3 separate regions of the Homo sapiens genome follow, and regions 1 and 3 are each linked to region 2. The links are contacts of gene promoters, found by promoter capture Hi-C in blood cells and fetal thymus (Javierre and others, 2016). All regions are on one chromosome and are shown on one strand. The core of a region is centred on a gene start or on the middle of the fragment in contact, and the rest is flanking DNA. Distances in the headings are between cores, read along the strand shown.

What was found. The method cuts DNA at HindIII sites, captures the fragments that hold promoters and counts their contacts. A CHiCAGO score of 5 or more calls a contact.
Region 1: a contact is called between a fragment that was not itself captured here and the fragment with the promoter of C18orf63 in region 2, in 1 of 17 cell types (erythroblasts). The highest score is 5.2, in erythroblasts.
Region 3: a fragment that was not itself captured here is called in contact with the fragment with the promoter of C18orf63 in region 2 in 4 of 17 cell types (M0 macrophages, M2 macrophages, erythroblasts and 1 more); the score reaches 8.6 in M0 macrophages.

What each region holds. Positions count from the first base shown.
Region 1 is chr18:74,241,030-74,243,729 of GRCh38, reverse strand. No RefSeq gene overlaps it. Among named protein-coding and RNA genes, the nearest start is that of CYB5A, 50 kb to the left of the region's middle. RefSeq lists an enhancer at 822-1,116. The HindIII fragment of the contact is 1,220 bases long and covers 812-2,031 here.
Region 2 is chr18:74,314,565-74,317,264 of GRCh38, reverse strand. C18orf63 (chromosome 18 open reading frame 63) reads right to left here and starts at 1,426. Exons shown (of 14, transcript NM_001174123.2): 1 at 1,156-1,426. RefSeq lists an enhancer at 1,049-1,218. The HindIII fragment of the contact is 4,843 bases long and covers 63-2,700 here.
Region 3 is chr18:74,201,405-74,204,286 of GRCh38, reverse strand. No RefSeq gene overlaps it. Among named protein-coding and RNA genes, the nearest start is that of TIMM21, 54 kb to the right of the region's middle. The HindIII fragment of the contact is 6,951 bases long and covers 1-2,882 here.

The sequences.
Region 1 (2,700 bases), core at 172-2,671, 74 kb after region 2:
CCATCGTGCCCAGCCTCAGTGTTTCTTATCTCAGGAGCATCCACCCAGGTCATGCCAGAAACAGGGTTTCTTCTTCACACCCCTCACCTTCGGCATTGCTTCCTACAATCACCACTCGGTTAAGAGTGGCTTCTTGTAAAGGGTGAGATGTGAAGCCAGAGGAGGGGCTTTTACTGTTTCACTCCATACTTTGTTCACTTACATATGGTTGGAATTAAATATATGACTTTTGCAGCTGAAGATAAACTGATCGCTGATGTGTACTGTTTGTTTCTAGATAGCCTCAGTGGCTGCTCTGTCTACTCTCTTGCTAGTGCCCATCCCTCCTCTCCACCTCCAGTGCCACGGCCCTCATCTAGGCTGCAGCTCGGCTGCTCTGAGTTACTGCTGCAAAAGCTCACTTCCTACTCGCATCTGGATCTGCCCAGGCCATTATTTCTGTCCTGCAGTGTATTCTCTGAGCCTCATCCAGTTCCTGAGACAAAGGAGGTGATTGTTAACTGAAGTCCCCTAACTGGTCTCCCACTTCCAGTCTCTATTTTCAATCTCTTGTGCCCATCATGATGAGATTATTCTCACTAAAACACCACTTTGATATCACTCTTGCCCCCCAGCCCCAGGCAGCTCTGAAGCACCCTACAAACTCAGCCTTTAGAGGCAGGGGGTTTTGAGAACTGCAGGATGTCCAGGCTGTGCATACTGGAGCACGGGAACTTTCAGACTCCAACAGTTTGTCAGCGTGGCAAGAGGCAGAGACAGATGTTATCTGACAAAGTTTGTCATATTCTTAGTACACCAGATCCTGGAAGCTTGTGAAACACTCTGGAAGGTCAAGCTAGTGCCTAGATCTTAGTGTCAGCCCAAAAGACTGAGGGCGAGGGCGGGCGGAAGATTATCAACAGCAAACATGTAGGAGGGCAGGGCCGGCTCGTTCTCGGAGGTCAGGGGAGTTCTGTGCTCTTGGACCTGAGTTTGATAAACTCAGTTCCTCTTTATCTCTGCTGATCTGCGGTATCTCATAACTTCAGCATGCTCGCCACTACCCTGAGTCTGTAGACTTCGGTGTTGATGAAGTTCACGTTCTTGGCACTATGGCCAGTGCCTAACAGCCTTTCCTTTTAACTAAGAATCTATTGGCTTTAGGCGCCCCCAAGTGACACCCTCCTCCTGGAAAATACTGATTATTTCAGCATCCAAGACTTACTACTGAGACCTAGCAATAACTAAGCACTTTTCTCTCTCCTCTTTGCGCCGGCTTCGTTACTGATTTACTCCTAGACTCGCAGTAACTTGCAGAAACTTGCAGAATTCACAGATGTGATTTAGAGCAGCTAAAATGTTTCTGGTTGGAGTTTTCATGTGTTAGAGAAAACAAAATCCTTTTAGGGAAACCATGGAGTAGATTTTTGCCCTTTTTCTCCAATGGTTCTTCATGTTTCCTTTAATATTTTTTCAGAGTTATCTCTCCTGAGAATCATACCCATTTGTGGCTGCTTCCCTGTATGTTTCGAGTTCAAACTGGATTCCATAACTTTCACTTCTGTCCTCATGAAACCCTTCTCACCCAAGCAAACCTGTAGCACGTGCCTCTCTCCCTGTGTTCCTCTACAGCTTTAAAGCTCTCTTCTCTTTGGGATTACAAAGTATCTAGTATTTGTCAGTTTCCTGAGCCATGACTTTGCAAAGAAAAAACAATACAGGCCTGATGGCATTACAACTTCATAAAAAATTAATTTAACGGTGCTCATAGATTGCCTTAATTTCTTTCATGATTTCGGGTTGGCTGTCTCCTCTCCCTATTTTTAGAATGTAGTAGATAGAATGCCCTTAACTATATGGGTGGATGGTTGATTACTCAAAGTCAGGTAAAGTGGAAAACGATTATATTTTAACTCATTTTAAGTTCATTTGCCAAGAGCTTTTTTGATTTATCTTTTGGGTCTGGATCCTCTGATAGGAGTTCTGTAACCACGATGCATCCGAAATGTCCCTTTCTCTTACTTTAATGTGGAATGAGAACGTAAAGAAGCTTCCAAAGCTATCTCCATACCATAGAAGTCTTAGAGTTTTAGAATTTTTCTTCCTGGTCTTTTACAGCTGCCTTGCACATGCCTAATGAGTCATTTTAACAATCCCTTTATCAAAGCTTTTAACAGCATCCAACATAGTTTTTATGGGGACATCTCTCCTTTTGAACTTGTATTTTTCCTCAGGTTACATCATATTCAATTAGTGTAATTGTAAATACATTTAAAGCTAATATAATGCCGGGCATGGTGGCTCACACCTGTAATCCCAGCACTTTGGGAGGCTGAGGTGGGCGGATCACCTGAGGTCAGGAGTTCGAGATCAGCCTGGCCAACGTGGCAAAACCCCATCTCTACTAAAAATACAAAAATTAGCTGGCCATGGTGGCGGGTGCCTATAATCCCAGCTACGTGGGAGGCTAAGGCAGGAGAATTGCTTGAACTCAGGAGGTAGAGGTTGCAGTGAGCCAAGATCGTGCCACTGCACTCCAGCCTGGGTGACAGAGTGAGACTCCATCTCTAAAAAAATAAAATAAGAAATAAAGCTAAAATAAGCAGAGTGGGAACAAGTACACTGATAAGCGAGTTGGAGCAGGAGTGTGCAGGCAGTCAAGAAGGCAGGCAACTGTGCAGGTCAGTACCCCGTGGGCATTGATTATTTGCATTTCAGAGG
Region 2 (2,700 bases), core at 177-2,676:
ACATTACATTTTACTACAGTAACAAAAACTGGAATATAAAAGTAAAGCAACCCAGTGAAGCTTCAGTACACTAACATGCACAAATACATTAGGGAAAAGTAAGCTGGACTCTAGTACTTTCAACTTTTCAACATCAACATGCTTTTTCTTTTTAAGAAAGAATAATATACTGGCCCGGGAATGTGCAGTGTGACCAGCCTTCTGATCACAGTACTGAAATGAGTTTGTGGTGTCATCTGAGGAATGCTGGCAATGCCAGCAGGAATGTAATACAGTAGGAATGTAAATTCCAGGTCACCAAAAAATTCCTGGGTGCAAGTCCTCCCGTTTTGCCAATCTTCAAATACTCACGGATTGCAACACTGTATGTAAACAAGAGTGATCTGTTCAGGGATAAGCATGAATTTATTAGAATTATTACTATTGTTTAATTTTGTGAGTTCCTAGTTGGCAAAACTTGCAGATTCAAAAAGAATGTTGTTTTCTTTGGCTAGGCTGTAGAACTATATTGTGAAGCTCAAAACGTGGGCCAAGCCTTATTATGATCTACGGATGCGCTATTAACATCCTGTCCAGGGAGTCGCTCCACTACGTTTCTGTCCCAGGATTTCATCTTTATTCCCAATCCCCAGCAGGGCAAGGAACAAGTGCTAGGAGCAGGCAACAGGCACCTACGCAATTCTACACGTGAGGGAGGACTCAGAGAACCCCAAAGGACCAAAACTCTGGGAGCGCCCAGCTCCTGCAGTGCTGTGCGCTAAGCCTCGGGACCGCCGCTACGAGGGACCCTTCCTAAAAATCCTCCCGGGGCGCGGGGTTCAGGGCGGCCCCAGACCCGGCTTGCCGCTGCCCCCAGGCGAGCGCCCACCCCTCTTCCGGCCTGGCTTCTGTGAGAACAGTAATGGACGTGAGTGGAAACGAATCTAAGGTCTTTGTTCAGCTAAATCCATTTTAAAAGGTGATTCTATAAATTTCCGATATAATGAAATGCCCGAAAAATTGGGACTCATGGGTCTTTGCAGATGAATACATTTTTTTCCTGACCCAAACCAACGTCCTCAGGGTGCCGGCGCCGGCACCGGGATCCTGCCCTCATGGCGGCCCTGACCTGCTCCTCCGCAACCGTGGGGAAGAGAATCAGGAAAATGGTCTTACAAACTGGAAAAGCAACACTTCTAACGCCCACGGCCTCCTGCACTGCAGATGCGTCAGGCGTCTCCTCAGGGGGAGGAAAGGGCGGGTGGGCGGCAGGGCCTCCAGCAGTCTCCCTCGCTTCCGCTCTGCCTCCTTCAAGCAGCTGCCCCCCAAGGCCAGGCCTCTTGGTCTCTGTGGGGCGTCGATTGAGAGCCCGCGTGCCTCAGCTCCCTCCTCGCTGCCCTCAGGAGACGCTCCCGGCTCGCCCCGCGTGCCCTGCCTTCATCGGAGTGTCCCCTCGTGCCCTCCTCACAGCCCTCGGGAGCCAATCCCAGTATTTCCCGCGCTCTCCCAGCGTTCCCTGCGCTCTCCCAGCATGCCCTGCAAGCCTTGCGCTCCTGGCACGCAATGTAGGTCAACTTTTCCCGCCAAGGCAGGAACCGACCAAAGCTGGTCACGGATGACCCAGTGAAGCCCTGTGAGATTCTCTCAGCCTGAGCTGGTGTGGGTGGGGCCGGGACACAAGGTTCTGGCCGCCCTCGAAGGCGGGAAAGCTGGGTCAGCGCAACACGTCCAACGGGGAGCTCCGGCGCTGAAGCCCCGGCTAACTGCGTGCTGCACAGGGGCTACCCAGCCTCTTGCCTCGGCACGTTTCTCCTCAGATTCTCATGCCCGAATTTACAGCTTCTGCAGTTCCTTTAGTGGTGGGAATCTCCATGACTGGAACATCTTCATGCCTGGTGTGGAGGGGAAGCGTGGTGCAAGCTCGTGGGAGTAAATCCACGAAGCGCCTACTGTGTGCAGATGCGTTTCTAAGGTCTGCTGATAGAGCACTAAGCAAACAGCATTCCCGGTCCTTGTGGGATGCACATTTTACTTGGTAGTTGGGGGAAAACAGATACGCAAGATAAATGTGCAAAATCTTAGTGTGGCAGATGGTGATAGGTGCATTGGAGAAAAATTAAGTAGGGTAGGGAGGCGGGGAGTGCCGAGGAGAAGTCGTTAGGTTTAATAGCGTGGTCAGGAAGGCCTCGTGGAGAACGGGACGTTTGAGAAAGACATGAAGGCGGTGAGAGTGGGCAGCCTCGTGCATGTCTCGGGGGAGAATGTTTGTTACGAGAGAGGGAATCCTACAAAAGGCCAGGGCAGGAGGGACGCCAGCTGGCTGCAGTAGAGCAGGAAAGAAGTGGCTCCGTGAGGCAGGAGGAGTTACAGAGAGCCAGACAGGGTTAGGCCCGATAAGCCATGGAAGTATTAAAGGTGCATCCAGCCTGCTGTGCTGGAATGGACTGAAGGGGACAGGGAAAGGAAGAAAAGCAGTTAGGAGGCAATGGCAATAAGGAGAGAGGTGGCTTGGATCAGAGCAGTGGCAGTGGAGGGAATGGGATGGGATGGGATTGGATTCTGGATATATTTTGAAATTAGATTTAATAGGATTTGGATATGGATTGATGTGGGATCTGAGAGAGAGGGAGAGGAATCAAGCATCACTCCAAGGTTTTTATACTAAGAATTCAGAAGGATTGGGTTGCCATTAATTACAAAGGGGAAGACTAAGAGGAGCAA
Region 3 (2,882 bases), core at 276-2,775, 110 kb after region 2:
TTTAGCTCAGTGATTTTGGGGGCCCACGATATGTTCCTTTTGTGCCACTTGTTTTGGGACTGTCCTCACTCCCCTGCCACTCCTGATTCTATGCACGTGGCCTTGGTGAGACTGCTGGGCTTCCCCTGCATCCCACCTCCCAGCCCATAGCTGGCAGGTCCGGGATGGCCTCTCCTGGGACTTTCTGAAGCAGAGCCAAAGAGGAGCCCATCCCTGACACGCAGGCTGTGAGGCCACTGTGCAGCCTTGTTCCTGGCCCACCAAGGAAGCCAGCTGCACCGCGTGGAGGGAGCTGACGTGCAGAGAGGAGATCCTCGTGGGGTCAAGGCCTGACCCAGCTATCCTTGAAGGCAGCTGCATCTCTGGCCTTCTTATATCTGGCTGAACAATCCCCACCCATTTTTTTTTTTTTTTTGATTCCAGAGGTTGTTAAATTTCCTTTATGCCTAAACTTGCTTGAGTTGTGTTTCTGACACTAGATGCTAAAAAAGTCTGACAGCCGCATAGCCTTGGGTTCTGGAAGGCAAGCCACAGAAACCTGTCCATGTGGCTACTGTGTGTTACAGCCTTTAAGGCCTTCCCCCAGCTCCCCTGAAGCTGGAGTCCCGGGGCAAGGGCACCCACCAATTATGGGTTGAAATGTGTCCCTTAAAATTTCATATGTTGAAGTCCTAACCCCCAGTACCTCAGAATGTGACCTTATTTGGAGATAGGGTCTTTATAGAGGCAATCAAATTCCAATGTGGTCATTAGGGTGGGCCCTAAGCCAGTATGACTGTGTCCTTTTCAAAAGGGGAAATGTGGATGCGGAGACAGACATGCATGCAGGGAGAAGGCCCTGTGAAGATGGAGGCAGAAGTCGAGGTGATGCTTCTGCACACCAACGAGCACCAAAGGTTGCCAGCAGCTGCCAGAAGCAGGGAGAGAGGCCAAGAACAGCTTCTCTCTCCGTGCCCTCGGAAGGAACCAGCCCCTGGGCACCTTCATCTCGGAATTCCAGCTTCCACAGCTGTATCTAAGTCTTCCTGGGTGTGGTTCCTTGTTATGGCAGCCCTGGGGAAGAACATGGTGCCATCCCCGTCACGTGGGCACTGAGAGCACCATCATGGCCAGGGAGGCCAGCCCTTCCTTCTGTGGCCATGGGAAGACCGTACTCTGTGGGCCGTGCTGTGACTGGGCTGGTGACCCTCGTGGGCCGTGGCTGTGACTGGGCTGGTGACCCCCAGGCTCCACACATGTGCACATCAGCTTCCTCTAGAGCCATCTTCCATGATCTGATTCAAACGCTGGACTTCTCTTCTACTAGACCAGAGCCTCGAGGCCAACTAATCTTCAACGAAACTGAAAAAATGATTTCCAGCAACTGAGCTACTCTCACAAGTATAGAGGATTGAGTAGGATTGGGCATCAAGCATAAATATGGATTTGAGATGTCCTTTTGGAATAGCACAACTCATATGGTATCACTGCCTCAGGGGCTGGTCTCTTGGGATTCCTGGATCCCCACATTTTGGACTCATTGCGCTACTGAAGTGAGAGGATGGAGAGGACTTGGAGATCACCTGTGTCCCTCATCTTACCAATCACTGGGGTCCTGGGCTCTGACTGGCCTGAGGTCCTTCTGCCATCACAGAGCAAAACAATTCACTTGGCAGCTTCTGCTCCTCCCATGTCCCAAGGACCCCCTGCCCAGGGTTGGGGCCCATTGAGGCATCCAGTCACCAGCTCAGACTGAGACCCTTTCCTGTAAGGCTTCATGCAGATACCCCTCATATCTGTGGGGTCAAACCCCTCAGCTCCAAATCTCTGAGCCTCTGAATGCATAATCTGGTTGTGCGTTTTGGTTAGATTGATCAAAGCACAGCAGGACTCACCTTTAAGTTCTCAGGTGACAGCAGCATTATCAAAGCCCTTCTTGGGTTTATTTCTATTTCTAGTTCCTAGGGAAGAGAAAAAAAAAAAGGGGATGATATATAACACTGAACAAGCATTTACTTACGTAATCTCATTTAATCCTCACAGCCAGCCCACTGTATTAGTTGCCCAGAGATGCTGTAACCAAGTACCATAGACTAGGTGGTGTAGTAACAGAAATTTACTCTCCCACAGCTCTGGAGGCCAGAAGTCCAAAATCAAGGTGTCCTCAGGGCCATTCTCCCTCTGAAGACTCTAGGGGAGGGTCCATCCTGCTTCCTCCAGCCTCTGGAGAGGTGGTTGTTGGCAATCCTCTCTGTTCCTTGATATGTGGGTACATTACTCCAATCGCTGCCTCTGTCCTCGCCTGGCCTCTGCATGTGTATCTCTCTGTGTCCCACCTCTTCCCATAAGAACACCCGGCACTGGACTTAGGGCCCATCCAAATCCAGTATGATCTATCTTCATTCACACATTAATGATATCTGCAATGATTGTATTTCCACATAAGGTCACATTTACATATCTTTTTGGGGGGATGCAGCAAACTTCCAACACTTACCTTGATTTTATAGATGACCAGGTCAATATTTAGAGCAGCTAAGTCATCTTTCAGGTTTTAGTTTGTGTTGGGGATGCAAAATTTCTCCTCAGCCCTTTTAGAGTTGCTAGATGAGCCCAGTGAATCCACTGACAGAGACAGCTTCAGAGGAGAAAAGTAGGCAGATTTTATTAAGTAATTTTTGTATAGACATGGGAGCCCTCACAAGAAAAACGAAGACCCAAAGAAGGAGTTGGGGCCACGAACTTATGCACTAGGTTGAACAAAGTGTCATAAATTGTGGAAACATGACAAGACAAAGGGGCTTGGGTAGGGCAGTCAGTTGGGGGCAAATGACCAGGAAGGTAAGTGTTGGCTTCACAAGGTTTGTTTGTAGAGCACCCTGGGCTTTGACTCTGATGACAAG